4 separate regions of the Homo sapiens genome follow, and regions 1, 2 and 4 are each linked to region 3. The links are contacts of gene promoters, found by promoter capture Hi-C in blood cells and fetal thymus (Javierre and others, 2016). All regions are on one chromosome and are shown on one strand. Each heading gives the region's core, a stretch centred on a gene start or on the middle of the fragment in contact. The rest is flanking DNA. Distances are from core to core; before and after follow the strand shown. Region 1 overlaps ACO1 (aconitase 1). Region 2 overlaps ACO1 (aconitase 1). Region 3 holds the start of NDUFB6 (NADH:ubiquinone oxidoreductase subunit B6). Region 4 overlaps ACO1 (aconitase 1).

The links. Contacts are between HindIII fragments. The CHiCAGO score rates a contact against its expected background, and 5 or more counts as called.
Region 1: a fragment that was not itself captured here is called in contact with the fragment with the promoter of NDUFB6 in region 3 in 5 of 17 cell types (non-activated CD4 T cells, erythroblasts, M2 macrophages and 2 more); the score reaches 6.2 in non-activated CD4 T cells.
Region 2: a fragment that was not itself captured here is called in contact with the fragment with the promoter of NDUFB6 in region 3 in 13 of 17 cell types (neutrophils, naive CD4 T cells, naive B cells and 10 more); the score reaches 11.5 in neutrophils.
Region 4: a contact is called between a fragment that was not itself captured here and the fragment with the promoter of NDUFB6 in region 3, in 9 of 17 cell types (megakaryocytes, M2 macrophages, M1 macrophages and 6 more). The highest score is 8.8, in megakaryocytes.

Annotation. Positions count from the first base shown.
Region 1 is chr9:32,420,367-32,423,066 of GRCh38, forward strand. ACO1 (aconitase 1) reads left to right here. Exons shown (of 21, transcript NM_002197.3): 8 at 490-661. Among named protein-coding and RNA genes, the nearest start is that of ACO1, 37 kb to the left of the region's middle. The HindIII fragment of the contact is 5,989 bases long and covers 1-2,700 here.
Region 2 is chr9:32,399,649-32,402,348 of GRCh38, forward strand. The region is part of intron 1 of ACO1 (aconitase 1); the gene reads left to right. Among named protein-coding and RNA genes, the nearest start is that of ACO1, 16 kb to the left of the region's middle. The HindIII fragment of the contact is 7,739 bases long and covers 1-2,700 here.
Region 3 is chr9:32,571,756-32,574,455 of GRCh38, forward strand. NDUFB6 (NADH:ubiquinone oxidoreductase subunit B6) reads right to left here and starts at 1,404. Exons shown (of 4, transcript NM_002493.5): 1 at 1,126-1,404. The coding sequence starts at 1,305. RefSeq lists enhancers at 952-1,491, 1,762-1,811. The HindIII fragment of the contact is 6,496 bases long and covers 264-2,700 here.
Region 4 is chr9:32,440,826-32,443,525 of GRCh38, forward strand. The region is part of intron 19 of ACO1 (aconitase 1); the gene reads left to right. Among named protein-coding and RNA genes, the nearest start is that of ACO1, 58 kb to the left of the region's middle. The HindIII fragment of the contact is 582 bases long and covers 1,140-1,721 here.

The sequences.
Region 1 (2,700 bases), core at 161-2,660, 150 kb before region 3:
AGAGAAAGAGAATGTTTCTCATCTTGAAATATTTTTCTTAATATCATTTGTATTTTGGGCACACTTTGTCTTTCTTTTTATAAATAAAAACTATTTGACATCATCTTAGATTTATGGGAGAGTTAGTATAAAGAGTACAGAGAATTCCTGTTATCTTTCTCCCAGCTTCCCATAATGTTAACATCTTAAATAACCATGGCACATTTATCGAAACTAAGAAGTTAACATTGGTGTGGTACTCTTAACTACAGACTTTACCAGTTTTTTCAGTAATGTCCCAGAATTCTGCTCCAGAATCCAATCCAGGATACCATGTTGCATTTAGTTGGCATTGTTTTTTAAGTTTTGAAAGTGATCACAAATGTGTTGGGCTGATTTACTATTTGGGTTTACTGACAAGACTAGTTTATAAGAAGTGCAAGATGGTAGTTCTGCATTTTGAATGTGGGCCATCAGATCTCAAACTTTTCTGTTGTTTCTGCTGCTTAGCACCTCCGCCAGGTTGGGGTAGTGGGCAAATTTGTCGAGTTCTTCGGGCCTGGAGTAGCCCAGTTGTCCATTGCTGACCGAGCTACGATTGCTAACATGTGTCCAGAGTACGGAGCAACTGCTGCCTTTTTCCCAGTTGATGAAGTTAGTATCACGTACCTGGTGCAAACAGGTAAGTGAAGGGCCCTGAAAGCATCGGGCTTTTTGTAAAAGTTCCATGAAACACCAAGAATCTGAGCACTGCCTTCTGCCTCTACCCAACAGAAGGCACTGGGTTACAGTTACACAATTATTTTTTTCTCCATGGAGTCAAAATGGGTTTTTGGGATTTAAGGAGTTAATATGAGATAGAGATGGTATGGCCAATAGAAAGAGCTCAGAGATTACAGAAGCCTGGATATTTATACTGGTCCTCTACTACTAGTTTTTTGACATTAAACAAGTGATCTTAGTAATGGTTACTGCTGCCTATGGGGTACTTGCTGTGTACCAGGTACCTAGTATGTATTTGCTGTCAACCTCTTTACAGATCTGTAGGGTAGATTGATTGACTAGTTAATTAACATTAGAGAAAACTGAGGAGCAGAGAAGTGTTCATACCCAAGGCTAATAAACAGCAGAGTCAGAATCCAACCCTGCAACTGCCTGGCCCCATACAGGAACAGCACTCTGCAACACCCCTCTCAGGGATGTCTAAAAAATGAAATGAGTCCAGGCATGGTGGCTCACTCCTGTAATCCCACCACTTTCAGAGGCCAAGGCAGGCAGATCTGACCTGAGGTCAGGAGTTCGAGACCAGCCTGGCCAACATGGCGAAACTCCCAGGAGGTGGAGGTTATGGTGGGCCGATCTCGCACCACTGCGCTCCAGCCTAGCCAACAGAGAGACTGTCTCAAAAAAAAGAAAAAAGAAAAGAAATGAGAGTGTGATGTGATAATGAGAAAGAAAGGGGAGGTGGCTGAAGTACCCCAGAGGTGCTTGCACAGATCTCTGGATGAAGTGAAGGGACAGCCATGGGAAGGGTTTCATGAGAATCTTACAGACTCCAAATAAATCTTAGTCTTCTGCTGTAGCCTGAGGAAATTCCTCTAGAAATAGTAAAGATTGTCATGAAAAAGTTTATTTAAAGAAGTTTTTATTAAATATAAACACATTGAAATTGATTAATACATCTTTGTTCTCCCAAAGGATTTTAAGTGAAAAAGATAACTAAAAGAACAGAATAAATAATTGAGGGAATCAACCTAAAGAAAGAGAGGGATAGTGTGCTGGGTAGAGGGATAAAAGCTGTGAGATGGATCTAGAGGGAAGGTTAGTTGGTTAGTTCCCGTGGTGCTGCAGGTGGCCATTATACTTCTTGGTAATCCAGTGCCAAATTTGTAACATCTATTAAATTGAAACAAACATATTGCTTCAGAATAGTGTAGCCCTTTCTCATAGTAAACCCTAAGAAAGATTTCTCCTGTTCATCTTCATGAAGAGCATGGCATGGGTTGTAGTGAACAGCGGGCTCAACAACAGGTCAGGACAAATACATTAGTGAAGCTCATACAGCTGTCTTTTATGAGGTCTGTGCTGAGAGCTAATGACGTTTACAGTTCAGCTAAAACAAATAGACAAACAAAAGTTCTGATCAGTGGTAGGATCAGCCAAAGGATCAAACCTTCTGTTTCTAACCATCAGAGAAATTGTGGACTGCATGTCCGTTGGGCATACTTCATGAGTATTATCTCCTACCCCGGGATCTTGATAAAAGTTAAATAGCAGAGGGTTCAAGGTCATATTCCTGGTGATGCAGCATCGTGAGTTAAGACTTTGAACTTTTGGGTCAAGCTCTGGTTTGGATTTTGGTTCTACCGTTTACTGGCTGTGTTACATGAGAAAGTTACTTAGTCTTCTTGAGCCGCCATTTCCTTATCCATAAATGAGAATAATAATTGTACTTGTATCTTAAGACTATGATAAAGGATTAGAGATTGAGGTAATACATTTAAAATGTTTAGGACACAGTGCCCAGAAAGTGCTCAGTAGCCAGTGGTTTCAGGTGGGGTTGGGATGCGTTTTAATTTTAACGGTAATCATGTGGAATGCTGAATCTTTGTGGCCAGTTGAAGGCAAATGCATAGGTGTGCTTTCACAATTAGCTCAGGTGTAAGATTCTCCTAATTAAAGGCTATACCCCAAAAGAGGCGGGTTATCTATAGATAGAAC
Region 2 (2,700 bases), core at 80-2,579, 170 kb before region 3:
GTATTTTAATAATAGGGAAATTGTTATATATCTGAAGGATAGATTTTTATGGTATAGTTTAAAGTGCTGTAAAATATCACACGATTGTCCTATTAAGATATTTGAGGTTTATTGTTGAGTGAAAAAAAGCAATTAGCAAAACAATGTGAGGTCTAGTGATTTTTTTTTTTTGAAAAATTCAAATGCGTTTAAAAGTCATGGTAAATGAAACTGTAAATCATGGTATTACAAAGGATTTTATTTTGTTCTTTTTGCTCACCTGCATTTTCTGTTGTTGCTACAGTGAGCATCTATTTCTTTTATTTTTTTCTTTTTCTGTTTTTTTTTTTTTTTTTTTTTTGCGATGGAGTCTCGCTGTGTCACCCAGGCTGGAGTGCAATGGCACGATCTTGGTTCACTGCACCCTCCGCCTGCTGGGTTCAAATAATTCTCCTTCCTCAGCCTCCTGAGTAGCTGGGACTCCAGGTGTGTGCCACCATGCCCGGCTAATTTTTGTACTTTTAGTAGAGATAGGGTTTCACCACCTTGGCCAGGCTGGTCTCAAACTCCTGACCTGAGGTGATCCGCCCATCTCGACCTCCTAAAGTGCTGGGATTACAGGTGTAAGCCACTGCGCCTGGCTGTATCTATTCCTTAGTGTAATATTTTTTAAAGTTACCACCACCCAAGAAGATGTGGTTCAGTAACAAATTTGGTATCCTGCTGAGATTGGAAAGGGAGCTGGGGATGGGGTGGGAAGGGAGGGCCCCCCTTGGATTAGTGTGTTTGACTTGAATGAGGTGTGGCACTGTTCATCTAAGGCTAAATTTGAGCCATTCAGGGATTCTCTTCACAGCTCTTTCTCTCTGTTGGTGAATATCAAAGGACATATTGAGGGGAGCAAAGTGGACTTTATCTGGAGTTATAGTCACAAATTTAAATACATCTTCACCAGTCATTATTAAAGAAAGATCTGCATTTGTAGTTCCAGGAACTTTACGGACCATTCTATCTTTCTTTCAAAGGGTATTGCTGAAGATGTCAAGTTCTCATTTTATAGAGATGCTAATGTAGGTATTTATGTACAAAGTTTAAATGACCGCTCCAGTGTTTTAAGAAGTAAGTAGTAAATGAATGCATGCTTATCAAAAATAGAATTTGAATAATACAGGAGTATGAAACATAGAAAGCTAAAGTCTCCCCTTTATACAATGTGTTATTCTATTTGTAATCCATGTTAACTTTATGTCTTTCTTTTTTGTGCATTTGCATATGCAATGGTGTGTGTGTATGAATGAATATACACTAATGGTCTTGAAGTTTTTTTTTTTTTTCACTTAAATCAGATCCTAGTATATACATATATATATTATTTTGCAACTTTAAAATTCTCATATCATTTAATGTGAGCCTTTACTAACATTTTGTATCTTGAATCTGAGTAAGGGATTGTATACGCAATATTATATCAGGAAAATTGATTTGCCCTTACTGTGGCTTTTGGAAAAAAGTGGCACCCAGGGCAGATCATCAGAAACCTAAATTTAAGTTGTTTTTCCAAAGTTTAGCTGTCAGTTCTCTGGAATTCTGAAACACATGGAAGTTTTAGTAAGTGATTATAGAACTAACATCACAGAAGCACCAAAAGACTGTGATACACCTAGGTAGTACTTTTTTCAACTCTACCTGTGAAAGATTTTAAGGGTTTTTTTTTTCCCCCTGAGGGAAATTTGCATTTCACTGGAGGGCAAATCAGCTGTATTTTTTTTTTTTTCTGGTTATCCCACTAATGAGTCCTGTGACCCTAGGCAGTCAGTTGCTTTTCAGGGCCTCTCTGTCTTCCTCTGGGGAATGCTACATGATTGCTAAGGTTCTTTACTAAAAACTCAACATTCTATGTCTCATTACCTCCTTAGCACCTAAGGTCAAGGTGTCCCTAGGGAATGGTGACAGGTTGGTGCCATGCCTTAGTGCCATGCTATGTATGCACAAAAGGTGCTACTCCAAGGCACCTGCAAGTGTCCTCAATTGAGCCAAAGGTCAGTTGGTAGCAAGACTGTGGTTGGGGAAAAACCCTAGCTCTTCACTCCTCCCACCCTTTTACTGGGAGCATGGCTCATTTGTTAAATGTCTTACCCTAGTTCTGCCTGCCTTTGCATAATATTTGTTATTTTTTAGTGACCTACTTTAAAAATCTGGTGTTCAGACTGTCCATGCCCACCCCCGTTCTTGCATGCAGAGTGTACCTGTGCTAATCATAACCCTGTACAAGTCACCCAGCTAGTATTTCAGGATGGGTTAGCTTTGAAAGACACTGTTTCTCTACCAAATAATTATCTTGACTTTCAGAATGTGAACTACATGTAATGAAGGGTTTCAGATACAGTAGCTCCGTTTTTATTCCTTTTGTTTAAGAACTGTTCATCTGTCTTCCTTGATTCAGTGGCCAGGGACAAGTGTTCAGCTGTCTTCATCATTCTGACAAGCGTCCCGGAGGGACAAGTTCTGAATAATTGCTCCCACCTTGTACCTTAAAAGATACCATTTCCCATTCCTTCCTTCTTTTTTTTTTCTTTTTTCTTCTCCTCTTTTCTCTTCTTGCCACCATGTAGTATCATCTCATTCTATAGAACAAAGAAAGCAGCAACCCCAAATAGTGTGATATATGCTAACTCTTCCCTCTTTCAAAAAAGAAAAACACCATATATATTTAGATACTCT
Region 3 (2,700 bases), core at 154-2,653:
ACTTCCTTATATCACTTGCTGATGGATGGGATGTCAACTTTAAATCAGTGACTGCCAATATTCCGATAATGTCAGGGATACAAAGGGTGGGAGAAGAGTTGAATTTTACCACCATAAATAAGTATCCAATATCACTTTCTCAGAAAAATTTTCAACAATTCTATTGCACTAGACTTTGTAGCACAGTAAGAATCAGATACATGTTGATTACAATATGAACTCATATTCAATTCCTAGCTCCCTGACCACCAGCAAATCACTGAAGCTTTGTAGGCCTCAGTTTCTTCACATTTAAAATGAGGATTAGGAATATCTACCTTACAGGAATAAAGAAATGAAGTAACACATGTAAAACCCCCAGTAGAGTGCCAAGCACACAGCAAGCACCCGTGTGTTACGTAGTATTGTTACTACTATTATCCTGTCATCAGTAAGTGTTGCAGGTAACTGAAAGCAATTCTGAGATGTTTATCATCCATAACAGTCCTCAAGAAAATACCCAGAGGCCTTGAAAATAAAGTTCTTGAATGAGTGATTTTCTTCAAAGCCCAAAATGCGATTTTTTTAATGAAACACTGTGTTAAAAGTACAGAACGGTAGTTTAGAAAGGTAGCTCTTGAATGTGACTCACAAGGCATACCAACAGGACCCTGTCTTTTACGGGGATCACATGGGGCTGTACTATCAGCTAGGGGCTGGCTGTGCCCTCTGGTGGTTGGATACTGTGTTACTTGGTCTCTAGAACCTCACACTTAAAAGTCAGACAAGTGTCCTCAAATACTTAAATCACAGAATTTTAATTCTAGCGAGTCCTTGGTTATTATTCTGAGGGAAGATTTCTACAGTCAAAAGAGAACCAAACGTGCAGCGTCCTGGAAAACCTAAGTATTAAAATTCGCCCCCGTCCACTGTACTTGACAGTAAAAGGCATGATTCTCTCAAAGCCATACATATTCCTGGACTCCTGCCTCCCGAGACTCCAGGAGGACTCTCGGGACTGGCCAGTGTCCCAGAGCACTGAGCGTTATCAGTCCTTGGTGTGGCTGCAGGGAGCGGACGTTCAGTGTTCAGGCTGCCGGCAGCAGTGGGATGTGTTGGGGGGGACCGGAGAGGTCTGTCACTCACCATTTTCCTCCAAGGGGATTTATTCTCCAAAAATTTATTCCAGAATTTCTCCATAGGCCCCATCTTCTGTGGGGGCAGCACCGGCTCCCGAGGGCTCAGCTCCTGGTCCTTCAGCCATCGCCTTCTCAGCTCTCGCAGCTGCTGCAGCCGCAGTTTCTCATCCGGAGTGTACCCCGTCATGTCGCCGCTGGTACCAACGCAAAAGGACACGGCGCACCCTCGAACTACGGACTAGTTACTTAAGCGCGCTCCCGCTCTGCAAAGCGACCTTGCGGGAACGCCGAGCGCCGCGCGCGGTTATTACGTCACATCCTGGTTCCGCCTCTGCAAGGGCCCCAGATTCCTCGCGAGGAAAGCAGTGTGTGGGCATGCACAAAGGTCTCCACCTCCAGTTCTCTCTACGCCCACCTCCGCTATACCCGACCAAATTAGGACCGGGTGGGGACAAGGAGTACTCGTAGTTGTGGGGCCTGAGGAAAGTGACAGATTAGACGAAAGTATGCTAAATTAGAGGACTGGAGGTTTTGCTAAGGAAGAACTTGTATGCTGGGAGGAGGAAGGATAAGCATAAATGTTTCAGTGAATATGCTGGCCAGATTCAAAATTATTTGCTTGCCTCTCCCACCTTGGAATGACCTAGAGAGTGTATGAAAATAGTTACATCCCAGTTCAAATCCCAGCTATGCCAGTAACTGCTGAAGTGCCCTGGGCAGCTGTCTCATCTGTCCCTCCATCTGTACAGGAATAGTGAAAAGAGTAGCTTAATATCTAGCAAAATTGCATAGATGAATTCATGCTTTCACCCAAAAATACGTGTGGTGAAAATATGAAAGAGCATGCACGACTATTCAGCACGATTCATAATACCAAAATATTGGAAATTACCCCCAAATTCCTAAATAAAGGACTGCTTGAATAAATTGTAGTACAACAGTCAAAAGACAGCATTACAACGAATTAGTTTAAAAATCTTAATTGACTCTTATTCGTGATTCTAGAATCAAAAAACACCTCATTCTATAAAGTAGAATGAGTGTTCTGATCAGCTGAGCAGAGGCGGTTGGTTTTATTGGCAAATAGGGGCTGAAGAAAGCAGAAACCGAACAAAAAGTGGACTCATCGTTTCAAAGTTACTTTTAGGGTTAAAGCAGAAGAAACTTCCTTGTTTCACTGACTCAGACTTAAGGGAATTTCCTATTTTTTGGGAAACTGGCCCATTTCAAAGTTCAGTTTGATTGTGTGGTACTTAGCACAAACGACTCCATTCTGGTTTGGTCTGGTCTGCTGGGGCCTAGTGCGTGAAGCTAGTCCAAAACAGTGGCTTCCCAAAAACTTTCACACAACAAAGCAATGAAATGCTAATACAATCGTCAAAAGTAATAAGGAAGAACTCTATATACATCTGTGGTGTGATCTCCAGAATACATTACAAAGTGGAAAAAAAATGGATAGGAATTTGTACAGTATGCTTTTACCCAAAAAGAGAAAGATGGTGGTAATTTCAATATATATACATATTTTCTTAAATTTTCAAAATAATGGGAATGAAAACAATTGAGGTTTTTAAAGATGCTA
Region 4 (2,700 bases), core at 181-2,680, 130 kb before region 3:
TAGAACAGTTTTGGGGTAGGGTCTGTGAAGTCTCTGAAAACATATCCAGAAGTATACATGTATGTCTTTCATGGGGAGAGGTGTCATGGCTTTTATAACATTCTCAGAGGCTGAGGACCCCAAATTTATTCAGGTCCCTTGTTCCAGGTGAATGTCAGGAATAAGCCAGGGCCATTGTATTATCTGTCAGTTTCACAGAAGAGAAAAGGAGCCTGGACTTTTTCAGGAGTTACTTTGGCAAGAATGGGTTCTAAGTCTCCTGGAAAATTGGGAGAATCACTTTTTATAATTGCACTTCACTGCCTATGAATATCTGCTTATGGGCTCTCGATGAGAGTGAAACTCACTCTGCACATACCCAGGCAGCTCTTTAGAACCTTCCGCCATCTCGGGGCTCTACCTCTTGAGGTGTCCCCATAGAAGGGGCCATGCAGGGAGCAGAGAGCTTTTGCCTCTTGAGCATTTGCTTGCCCTAAAAGCAGAGAAGAATCATGCCACCCAGCCTGAATCTTCAGGGTGGGGTACACATGGCTTACCTGATGTCAATTTAAATCATTTGTGGCTCGCAAATTAATGCACCTCGGAAACACTAAGTTCATATCCACAAGTACAGTAAAAAAATGTGGCTGTCTGGCAGGCAGTTCTCCAGACATTTAGGCTTCTGATAATGTCTTTGAACATCACACCTATTATTTTAATTGGTTATTTTGCTCTGAGGAAAATAGAAATGTTCTCTGATTAGTTGATAGTAGGTCAAAGGCCTGTCTTTTCTGGAAACTATTGAAAAGAACCAGATAATTGCAGAAGAAAAGGATTTTAGGAAGGGGGTTGGGAGCTGTAGCCAAAATGCAACCCAGGCAGTCAGCACTCAGGTAGGGAACTCTAAGATCTGATAGAGGATAAGAAGAGAACTGGCCCCCAGGGGTTCTCTAGAGTCCAGACTTTTCTATAGAACCGCTTGAGTTCTGGCTGCCCAGGAAGCCATACAGTCTTCTGTTCTGTAGCTGTCCAGGCTGGGCCACGTAGCCGTGCTGGACTGTACTTACAGAGAGCAGTGGACAGCTATGATTTACAGCTTCTGAAGCAAAGCAGCATGGCCTTTACACAGAGCTAGTGACATGAATAGGGTGTGTTTAGAAAGCTTTCTACCTCCCTAGAATACATCCATCTATCCCTAAAACCCTAGAAAAGATCTACCGCCCCAAAGAATCTGCCCTCTCTCTGTAGCAGTGCGTCTCAAGTTTGGAAACACTTATGGGATTTTTTTTTTTTAATACTTTAATACCTGTGTTTGGATCTCATCTCCAGAGATTCTGGTTTAATTGGTAAGGAGAAAGGCCTGGACATTGGGATTTTAAAAGCCTCCCCTGCTGATTCTGGTATGCAGCAGTGGTTGAGAACCATTGCGCTATAGTTCACGGTTCTCAAAATTGTAAGAATCACTAGCCCCCTCCCACCCCACGCTCCCTGCAAGACATTCTGATGCAGCAGATCTGGGGTAGTACGCAAGTATCTATGTTTTCAACAAGCTCCTAAAGTGACCCTGGTGTTGGGCATCTTAAAAGTGTGCCCTAGATACCAAGAGACCTCTTAGGGTATTTTAATATTATATGACAGTTATTAATTATTAATAATAAACTAATGGGGAGTTCTAGTTAATGGAGTACCATCCTTTATTGCTGTATATTGCCAATTATAGATTCCCAATAAAACATACTTTAAGCTTAATATCAAGACTATATTCAACACAATTTCATCTTTGAAGCAGGAAGTGTAAAAGCAGTACACAAGAGGTAATCATTTACTTTATCTGTGGTATGTTCTGAAAGTTGCTTTTTTGATTGAACTTTCTGTGCCTGCTGATACACCTAAAATAGTAGAAAAAAATCAAGGGAAAAATTTTATGTTGTTTTGTGATGTGGATTCCAGATACAATGTAACTTTGCTAAAACATGTTATATCATTTGTCAGACTTCATGGGTCCAATTACCAGATACCAGCACTGACTCCCTGGGTAAAGGGGGACAATAAGGGCATCTACATCCCCGGGTTAGTGGATGGTGGAATGAGAGGAATTATTTAAGTGCTTACATAGTGCCTCTACATTATGAGCAATCAGTGAAGACTAGCTATTGTGTTATTTATCACTAGAGGATAACATTTTATGTAAAATATTAATATGTACTTACAAATAATTTAGGTGTGAGAACAGTTCTAACTTACAAAGTCTTTTGTTTATTTTTGTTTTTTTAACAATCACCGGCTCAAGAAGCTTATAATTTGGGGTAGGGCACAGACCAGTAAATAGACAATTACAAAGCAATATAACAGAAGAAAGCACGGTGTTATGAGGCAAAAATAAGGACCACTAACTGAAAATTTATTAAGCCATTTTCTGTCATCCTAGATGTATTCAAGATGTAATTCCCTTAGAGTACAAAGTTAATGTAAAAAAAACGCTTCATTGTGACCTTCAGTCTAGAAGATGTATGGCAAAATTAGGCTGAAGCATCTTTTTCTCCTGTGACATTAGACATCTGATTTCACTGAAATATAGCACACAATTACTGGAAATGAGGGCCTATAAAAGTCCACAAAACCAAGTGACTTTTCAAGATATAACAGAGGTAAAAGGTTACTGTCATCACTGTCTATGAATCATCTCATTATCGATATTCTAGACTTTGAAGTAAAATAATA